Linked DNA regions of Homo sapiens: region 1 is linked to region 2. Evidence: promoter capture Hi-C in 16 types of primary human blood cells and fetal thymus (Javierre and others, 2016). All regions are on one chromosome and are shown on one strand. Each heading gives the region's core, a stretch centred on a gene start or on the middle of the fragment in contact. The rest is flanking DNA. Distances are from core to core; before and after follow the strand shown.

Region 1 (5,022 bases), core at 933-3,432, 1.1 Mb after region 2:
AAAGCCTCGTTGGCCTGCTCTGGATTGTTAAAATTAACAATTTCTATTATTCGTTGGAAGGGCGCGCAGAGCCGGCTACAGCCGAAGCTCCCGGAGTCACTAAAAGGAGGCGCTGCAGTTCTGCCGGCGCGCGGGAAGTTTTTCTTCCAGCGCAAAGTTGGAGACACTGAGAGGCAGGCGCAGGCAGAGTGGCTCTGCTGGGACAAGAAGCGCTCTGGGGCGCCTCCGGGGCTGAGGCAACGCGGAGATTGGTGCCTGGCGCCCCTCTTCGGCCTCCGCCTTGGCTGCGATGTTGCTCACTCTGCTCAGGGCTCTCCCCTCTCCGTCCGGTAGCGCACCCTGGCTTTGCAATAGCCCCTGGCTCGGAGCCGCTTTCCAGCGAGTGCAAGAACCGGGCAGCCGAGCGGTCCTTTTATAGTGGACCAGTGAAACCCCCACCCCCACCCCACTCCTCCCCTTTGGCCCTTTTCCATCCCAAAGACGCCGCCCCCGGCTCCGTTGGTGCTAAACCGCGCTCCGCGCTGCGGGCTCGGGAGGGGGAGGGGGCAGCCTCCGCGCTGGCTCCACGCCACTGCTCGTCAATCTAGGGGCGGAAGGGGCGCTGTGACCAGCACTTTGTACTGCTGGGGCCGCTCCAGGGAGAAGACTCTCCCTTCCACCGCTTTTCTCCCTCGCCGGTTTCCTGGACCACCCTTCCTCCCCACCGCCCGGTTGCGGTAACTCAGTTACCGCGCTGGGCTGCGGTTCCCAGGAGGGAGGGTTCGGTTGGAGAACGCAGTCCCTTCTTCAACATTTCCCTATCCTGGAGCTGCCCTGGGTCTCCTTCCCTCCTCCCTCAGTTCCCTCTTCCCCAATCTAGGAGATGAGCTAGGGCTACACTTTCTAGAAAAATACCTCACCCCACTTCTCCACCTTCCCAGCCTGCCAGGAGCTCCTTAGCCGCCGCCTGCTCTCTCTTCGCCCCAGCTTTTCTAGGGAAAGCTTGGCCCTGCGCTTCCCCCAGAAAGCATGCCTGGGTGAGGGGCCAGGTGACACTTCCTACGATCTGGATTTTAAAATATGTTTGCTTATGCCTTCACCCTCCACCAACCCCCACCCCGCACGCCACCTCTTCACCAGAGACGACTTTGTGAGGGCCCGGTTTCACATTTCTGGAATGGGTGATCTGGGACGCGGCTCAATTCCCTAGAGCATAAGGAGGGAATTGCGCTTTTTCTTCTTCATTCGAGAAATGATCGGCTCCCGCCAGTCTGCGTGCTTTCACTCAACAGCAGCTGCAAGCCCTAGGCCAGCGTCGCAGAAACGGCCAGGAACCCCACTTTCCTACCCGGGGGCCAGCAGCGATCGCTGGGGCTAGCAAGCGTGCAGAGGGGGAAAGAAGGAAATCGGCTTCCTTCCCGGACCCCTCCTTCCTCTTCCTACCAGGAAGGGAAAAGGCTATATCCGCGTTACGAAAGCGAGGAGAGGTCCACCAACAGGTCCTTAGGAAAAAAAACTGAGTGGCTCTTCTCTCCAAAAAGTGGGAGGGGCTCAAGGACCCAGAGGAAGGACGTGTTTCACAGGCGGAAAGCCGCGGGGACAATGGCGAGAGCGACCGCCCTAGCCCCGGGCGGACCCGCAACCCTCACACTCGCGCGCCCCCGCGTTAGTGCTCGAACTGGTCTCCGCCTTTCCGCCCCACTCCCGTCCGGTCTCTTGGTTGGCTCCAAGTAGATCTGGGTCCTTTCCTCGCTCCTCCCCAGATCTTCCCCACTTCAGTTGGCCCCAGCCAGAAGCGTCCCTTCTAGTTCTCCCACACGTCCCTCTTACAAGCTTTCTTTTCCGGATGCTTTCCAACTTCTTTTTTCCTAGCGAGATTGCTTACTTGAAAAACAAAAACAAAAACATTGCTTTCCACTCATCAGGAAAAATCAAATGAGCAAGAATGGCAGAGAGAAGCAACTCAGCTTACTTCTGAAGGGCTTAGTAACGACCTCTAGTCCCTACACATTTAGGAGTGGGTGGTTTCGTAGATTTAATTTTGGTTTCCTAAAATCACCCTCATCGTTGAACGTTGAATAATCAACCAAGGCCTTAGATATATTTTGACAGCGCTCGATTAACATTCTGATAGTGTTTCTGCCTACCTCTTTTCACTGAGTCTCTCCTTTGCAGCCCTCGCTGTCTCTCCCCCCCTCCCGCCGTTGCATTTCTCCTTCAAACTCAACATTGACATCCGCACACCTGAGTGTGTGATTCCTTTCTGCATTGTCAAGCATTGTCCAGCCTACCTCCTTCTCTTCGACTTCGAACTACGAGGATTATTCCTTCCTGTTTCTCTGTTTCCCAAGCGTCTTTTCCCAAACATCTGATCATTCCTACTTCCCAGTTTGGTTTTCAGACTTTTTTTTTTAACATTGTTATCTTCTATTACAGTAATTTTTTGACGGTCCATTTTCTATGATTTCATTTCATTTTACTGGTTCTTTCTAGCTAGAAAAAAGGCAAGATACTTGAGAGAACATATGAGGAAAGTCATGTTAGACTTTCAAGATATTGACCGCGGGATCACAAAAGCTTGAAGGCAAAGCCATCCGTACATTTTCAACCTCTTGCTTAGAAAAGGGCTCAGAAGATAATATATGGTGACAACAGTTACAGCCTCAGAGTGGCTTTGAGATGGAGATTTGAGATGGAGATTTTGGACACTCATAATCTCCATCTCAAGGAGAGGTGGCCCAGAGGCTGAATGAAGATGAGTGAAGGTAGATGTGATTCCCTTAAATTGGGGCAAAAAGGGACAAAAACAGCAGAAAATCTGTATCTTTAAAGACATATGTAATGTATTTCAGTCTATCAACTTCTCTACATAAACTTTAGCTTTTAAAAATATGTTAACGTAAGTTTGACCTTTAGTGTGTTTCTACCTGCAGGGTATTCTTATTGGAGGTTTGTTTAAAAGCATACATTTCTGATCTTGAATGGGTTACTACAAATCCATTATAATTGTTTCATATTTCATGTTGCAGATACAAGTAGGGTTGAAAAAACAGTGAGTTAAAGGCAAAAGGATGGCCGGGAACATGGCTTTTTTATTCTCTGGGTTTCTATCCAGATTTCTGTTCTTTTGCATAATGACTCCAATCTGTTGTGCACCTGTAGTTCTGGGAAATGATTCTTTTTTAATCGCTTCAACAGAGACATGGATGTTGGAGTTGCCAACTACTAAGCTGAAAAACTCCATCTATGCTCAGAAGAACATTTAATCCACTTACTTTTTCTCTTTTATTTAAAGATTAGCACTCATCAGGCATTTGTGGTAATATGCAAATATATACATAGGACATATATGTATATTTATAAGCAAAATGTGAATTGGAAAAACATTTGAATGTAGAAACAAGACCACAGGAGTAAATTTGTACAAGGCACTAGTAAAAGTGACATGTAATATGGGGTTCTTGTAGTGAGTTTCATAATCCAATTTTTGCTCCTTGATTTGAATGGGCACCCAAAATAACACATGCTATCCTAATCCCTACTCCCCATATTTTGGGTTTTATTTTTATAGAATACATATGGGCTTATATAAACATTAATCTCAACATGTTCTAATTTACATATGTAAGCTAATTTTTATTTCTAGAGATAACAGAACAAAACTCAAAACATTTGACATAAAATTATTGGAACAATTAACAGTTTGACCTATTAAACACATTATTGTCCTCTATGAACAGAGGGACTGTCTGAAAAAAAGAACAAGTTGTCTGCATTTTAAAGTGAGAGATAAGCATCAAGGTGTCAATTTCTATTTACACCTTATGTGTTCTTATTTGTTTCACAGATTCATATGTTATAGACACAATATTCTATTCACAATTTTCACGACGTCTATACCAAAGTAAGTATTCAACAAGTAGCCATGAAATGAGGAAATCTGGTAATATACATGAGCTATTAGAATTGTTTTAATGTAAACATTGTCTAGAGAAACAACTAATGTGCATATTTCATAACCGGGAAATGCTTTTTATTCACATTTTAGTACCATAAGATTGACTAATTAGAAATAGGGAAGCTGTTTGGTATTAGTCCTACTTTTGGGAACATATGGTCTAAAGTAATATTGGACAAATGGATATTTTAATTGATCACAAATGAGAAAGTAGTTAGAAAACTTCTAGTTTAAACAGGTTATATACCCAGAAGTATTGCAAATATTGGAGACAGAAAAATTATTGTAGCTTGCATTTAGACTCAAAATTGATATTCCCTCCACATCATGCCCTCACAGAACTCAGAGGAGTATGATCTGCCAGATCGACTCCCTTTGTGTAACTGATGCAGAAATGAGACTCAAAAGGGTTAAGTAGTTTTCCCAAGATGTCATAGCGAGAGTCAAACTGGGGGCTTAGAAATGACTCTGACTCATAACTTTTAATCAACTGTTTTGACATTTTAACCTATCTAATTGTGTAGGAGGTAATTATATTGTCAGACTTTGGAATGATGTTGTTTCCAGTAAAGTTTTGTTTTAATTATAAATAGGAATTTTCCAGCAATAAAAAATTTCCACCTTAAAAGATTCTCAGACTTTAGTACATCTTTCTCCAAACACAAGGTGGCGATGGTCTACAACAAATGATGTGCGACTTGGTGTTTTTTTTTTTTTTTTCTTTCCTTTCCTTTTTTATTCTTAATAGTTCAAGTTAAGAATTTGCAAAAGTTTCACATCTTCTCAATCATGTTTAATAAATTCTAATTAAATATTCTCCTACCTCCTAGTATTATGGAAAATATTTTAAAAATATTACAATGTTAAATGAATTTATTCTTGAGGGCATAATAAAATGCGTTTTTAAATCAACTACTTTTTAATTATGTGTTTGTATTACCATAAACAAAAATCCAATTAAACTTTAAAGAAAGAAAACTGCCTCTGACAAAATAATACTGTGGACCGCTTTTATTCATTACATTTGAGAACTTCTTGTCATTCAAATGAAAAGATTAAGTACATTTGCAATCCACTAAAACAGA
Region 2 (4,944 bases), core at 737-3,236:
AAAAAAAAAAAAAAAAAAAAAAAAAAAGAAATCCTACTATCAATGCAATCAACAAAATATGCTTCACCTGACAGAATGAAAGCAAACTGTTTGAAGAAATTAAAGAATTCATAACATATCACTTTTATACCCCATCAGGGAAAAATACTTGAGAAAAGGCTACAAGCAAACAACAAATGACCTCACAAGGTCATGTGCCACTTATTATCATTCCTATGTTTAAACACACAGAAACTGAGGATTAGAAGTATCTGGTCAAAGTGGTCGGGCGCGGTGGCTCACGCTTGTAATCCCAGCACTTTGGGAGGCCGAGGCGGGCAGATCACGAGGTCAGGAGATCGAGACCATCCTGGCTAACACGGTGAAACCCGGTCTCTACTGAAAAATACAAAAAATTAGCCAGGCGTGGTGGCGGGCACCTGTAGTCCCAGCTACTCCGGAGGCTGAGGCAGAAGGGCGTAAACCTGGAAAGTGGAGCTTGGAGTGAGCAGAGATCGTGCCACTGCAATCCAGCCTGGGCGACAGAGCGAGACTCTGTCTCAAAAAAAAAGTATCTGGTCAAAGTTACACAGCAAAATCTAACTTAACACATATATGCAAAAAAAAAAATTGTGCAATTCAATGCCACTTTCCCTTCTGGCAAACTAAGGACATGCTTAACATTCAGCAATAGGTTCACCCGACATTTGCTTAGCCCTAGATACTGTGCAAAGTACTTCCATATATATCCTTTCCTTGTACCCTTACAGCAATACTCTCAAAGAGTTAAAGTGTTCTTATCCCTGCTTTACAGATGATAAAACTGTATCTAAGAAAGATTAAGCTGCACGTATTCTCACAGTTAATTTGCTCTAAGTCTGACTGCATAGATGTTACTCCTTCTGCAACACGGGTAAAATCCACTTTCATTGTTTCAATTATCCACCATGTAAGTGCCTATGATTCCCCAATCGCATTTCTAATTTTAGTATTCATCCTGAGCCCCAAATCTATCCACAGCATTCAACAGTTCTCATCTCCCTTATAAGTCCTACGAACTCATCCAAAAAACGAACACATAATCCCATATCAAAACTTGTTCCTTCTCCTTTAATCCCTTTCATTTTTTTTCACTGATTAGTGAATGCATATTGTCCACTAAAACGCAGAAGATAGTCATTACACAAATAGCTGTGAAATACCACCTGACATAAATTCTCTATTCCAGTACCATCGGGTGCCACGAGAGCATATGATAGCGTCTGACATGATCAGAAAGACTGGGGAAGGCAACAGTAAGAAAACACTAGTCTGAGCAGAGGCCTTGTTCTGGGTGGGAGCATGGTTCTATTTATAGTGATGACTGACCGGCCAAAGGTTAGTAGGTTCGCTGCCTCTTCAGTGCATATTCCTATGAACAATCCATAAAGTCGCCTAATGAAGTGTTAGCACCATCGTTTTTAGGTGGGATGCAAACTTTCAATATTATGACTAATTTTTTCCCTCTTAATGGTACACGTTCTGCCTAAGTAGCCTAGACGCTCCCGTGCGCCCGGGGCGGGTAGGCCTGGCCGAAAATCTCTCCCGCGCGCCTGACCTTGGGTTGCCCCAGCCAGGCTGCGGGCCCGAGACCCCCGGGCCTCCCTGCCCCCCGCGCCGCCCCGATTTGCCCTCAGAGAGGGTATCGATCTTATTTCTGGGTCTACGGCAAACTCCAAGGTCTACAAACGTAGAGGTCAGCTGTGACCCCGGGCCAGGCCGTGAAGGTCCCCAGGACACAGAGCTGCTCTCTCCTCCTAGTAAAGGTGAGAGGCAGCCCAGGCCTCGTGAAAAAACCCAGAACTGGAGTCCCAAAAGGCCACGCTGATCTAGCTACCCTCCCAGTCACCTTGCACTCAGTCCCGAGCTGCCAAAGCCTCCGCCGCCACCACCTCCGCTCTACTTCCGGCCCTGGCTCCGCCCCCACACGCCTACCCGCCATCGCAATGCATTATGGGCCGCCGTTTCAGTCGGTCGACGCTCACCGGACAGGAAGCGTCTCGGAGACAGTCTGCGACCGGACGGGTCTAGGTGAGACAGAAGCCAAACAGGAGGAGGAAGTGGAGGGTAAGTGCTTCCGGGTCCCCTGGCACAGCCTCCGCCATCTTTTCTTCGCCTAATTTGACCCGTTCTTTTTCCCCTCCTTGAAACCTTGCTCTGTACGCATGCGCTCTTTGAGTGGCCTTTCCCCTAGTTCAAGCTCCCCTCCGAGTCAGCGTCCTGTTCGTTAGGGTTATCGAAGTGTATAAAGGTGCAGGGAAAGTGAGACTGTGTAAAACAAAGCGGATTGGGGCGTTGTGCTTCCTTGTACCTCGTGAGCCTCCGTTGCCTTGGGCGGTCGTTTTGCGCACCCTGCCGGGAGTTGTAGTCCTGGACCCGAAGGTGCCTGGGAGGCGGGAGGGGGGTTGGGGCTTCTCAGCGCCGATTCCGCGGGAAGGGCCCTGGGACCTCACACTTCTAGTCGCGGGAGCTGCAGGTCTTACCCGGAGAGACGCTGCACGTGGAGCCCTCGCCGCTGCCGTTCTCAGCCGGCTCTGGAGTGCGGGCGGGGGCGACAGGGCCGATTCCGGAGTGGGTGAGTGCGGCCGCCGGGGAGGAGGGGAGCGCGGGCCCTCGCGGGCCGGCCTCGTTCCGGGGCCTTTTCCCCCACAAGGGCCCCCCCGCGGCCGCCTCTGTGTTTTGTTTCCGCTGGTCCCCGGCGCTGTGACTCCCATTTCCGTTCGTGGAGACTTGAGGGAGCCGGGTGGGGAGGGGCGGGAGAGCTGTGCGGGGAGCGAAGGGGAGGGGCGGGGGGCGAGCGGCCTGGAGCCCGGGGGGACCGGGCACCGCCGGGACCCGTGCCGGACGGGTCGCCTGTCGCCGCTCCCTCCTTTCCGCGTCCCCTCCTCGCCCGTCCGCACTCCTCAGCAGTCTCAGCCTGCTCAGCTGGGATGTGGTCCTGACGCCCCCGAGATTTTAAGAGCAAAATGCAGACCCTGTCTCATCGCGGGACTCAGCGATTCACTCATTTCAAATCCGCTCTCTTTATAGAACAACACACACCAGAATCATTTATCAGCGTATATGGTAGCCATCTGGGTTTGTTTTTTTGTTTTTAAGCAAGGAAGTAAACCAAGGAGATAACAATGGGTTGTCTACTTGGAAATTTTTTTGTGTACTAGAAGACACGCTGTATGTGCGTGTTTGGATTTAGGGACCCCAGTTTGATCAGGTTAGCGGACCGAGAGGACAATGCCTAATATTGCATTGCAAGATGATTAGAAATTTAGAAATAAAATTCATTTCATAAGTAGTTTCCACTAATAGCAGTAGGTCTGACTCGTGAGAAGAGCAAAGATTTAGCAGGATTCACTTGAGCGAATTGTAGAACGAGGCGGTGATAACATTCTTCGGTAGTGTTATCTTGAACTTCAGAAGAAACCGCTCAACTCTTTAGCAACTGCTTGAGGGACTAGCCTGTCTCTCAGGGTTCCATCCAGGCTTTCCAAGCTTCTTTATTTTTAGACATACAGTGACGCTGAGTGGACTTCAAGTCAATTTTACCTGAATTGTGTATACAAGAGCATCTGTCATGAGGCATGTATAGTAATGAAGTAATTAAATCATGAGCTAGATGTTAGGTTGAAGCAAATCATCAGACCGAGTACTAAATTAAAACTGTTGACTTTAGCCTTCCCTCAACTCTTTATATATAAAACTCCAAACCTACAGAAGAATTGGGGAAAAAATCATGCAGTGAACACGCAGATACCCTTCACCTGAGGGTCCCAACTGTTAATCTTTCACTGTATGTGCTTTCTCTTTTTATATTACATAGATATGTATGCTTTGCTTTTTCTTAACTGCTACCTTTATTTTTGAAAATAAAAATGTCTTTTAATTTCCTCAGACACAGAAAAGCATTTGATAACTTAGGAAAATGTGCAGTTAATCTCGCAGGTACCCCCACACTCCACTTATAATATATTGGGAACAAAATGTTCTAAGCTCTGTAATAATGCTCTCCAATGAAGGACAATTCTCAAATTTATCTGTAGTTTCAAAAGGGAATGTTACACCTATCTGTATTTTAAAAGACACTAGCCGTTCCCAGAATTTTTCGTTAAATTCAAGTTTAGTTTGTATCCCATCTTGTGAAACATTCCGAACCCCAGGTTGGATTTAATCCAGCAGAACCAGAGTGTCAAAGTATATGAAATTGTTCTGTGCAGTTCTGGCGGGGGCAGCCCTTAGACGGAGAAACTGCAAGTAATTTTCTCTCAGTTTTCCTAAGTATTGACATAGAAGCCTGAGGAATTGGTTTCAGAAAAAGAGATAAGACTCACTCAAAAACTGATATGAAAGATTTGGACTATTTCTCAAATCTCTGTTTTGCTTCTCTGGACTAAGCATAGAGAACCAGGAGAGAAAGAAAGATTTAAGAGACTGAGTAATATTTTTTGACAGATCATTTAAGAAACTGAGTAATTTTTTTTTTCTCCAAAAGGGCATGGGTTTTTGTTTTGTTTTGTTTTTTCTCTATTTGGCACTTTCTAGGGATTGGTCTATAAATTTTTTGAAAGATCATAGGATAAATTTCTTTGTAGCAACTTCCTATTTTAGTGTTTATGTTAGGGGAGCCCCAGGTGTCCCTGCTGATACGCCATTAGGGCCACTTCTCAGCCTCTGGCTACATCATAATGCTTTTTTTTCTATCTTGCCAAAGTTTCCAGAAAATTTATGTTTTCTAATTTTAAAAAAATTGGTTGTGGAGATGGGAGTGGACCTCTTTATAAGCCCTGAAAATAAGTGATTTTTTTTAAGTGCTATTCTGCTATAAACCTGATTCTCACTTTTTTCTGTAGACAACAGTTTTTTATAATATATCTATTTTGTGTGGACATTATTTCCTTTTAACCAATACTGAAATTCCATAGTGTATACTTT

The links. Contacts are between HindIII fragments. The CHiCAGO score rates a contact against its expected background, and 5 or more counts as called.
Region 1: a contact is called between a fragment that was not itself captured here and the fragment with the promoter of GABPA in region 2, in 1 of 17 cell types (fetal thymus). The highest score is 5.0, in fetal thymus.

What each region holds. Positions count from the first base shown.
Region 1 is chr21:26,845,024-26,850,045 of GRCh38, forward strand. ADAMTS1 (ADAM metallopeptidase with thrombospondin type 1 motif 1) reads right to left here and starts at 386. Exons shown (of 9, transcript NM_006988.5): 1 at 1-386. RefSeq lists enhancers at 570-1,170, 1,171-1,770. The HindIII fragment of the contact is 744 bases long and covers 1,811-2,554 here.
Region 2 is chr21:25,732,986-25,737,929 of GRCh38, forward strand. GABPA (GA binding protein transcription factor subunit alpha) reads left to right here and starts at 1,987. Exons shown (of 10, transcript NM_002040.4): 1 at 1,987-2,593. It overlaps ATP5PF (ATP synthase peripheral stalk subunit F6), which reads right to left and starts at 1,919. Exons shown (of 4, transcript NM_001003703.2): 1 at 1,868-1,919. RefSeq lists enhancers at 1-48, 1,341-1,420, 1,739-2,394, 1,821-1,930, 1,951-2,070 and silencers at 1,531-1,630, 2,571-2,710, 2,771-2,980. The HindIII fragment of the contact is 6,464 bases long and covers 1-3,505 here.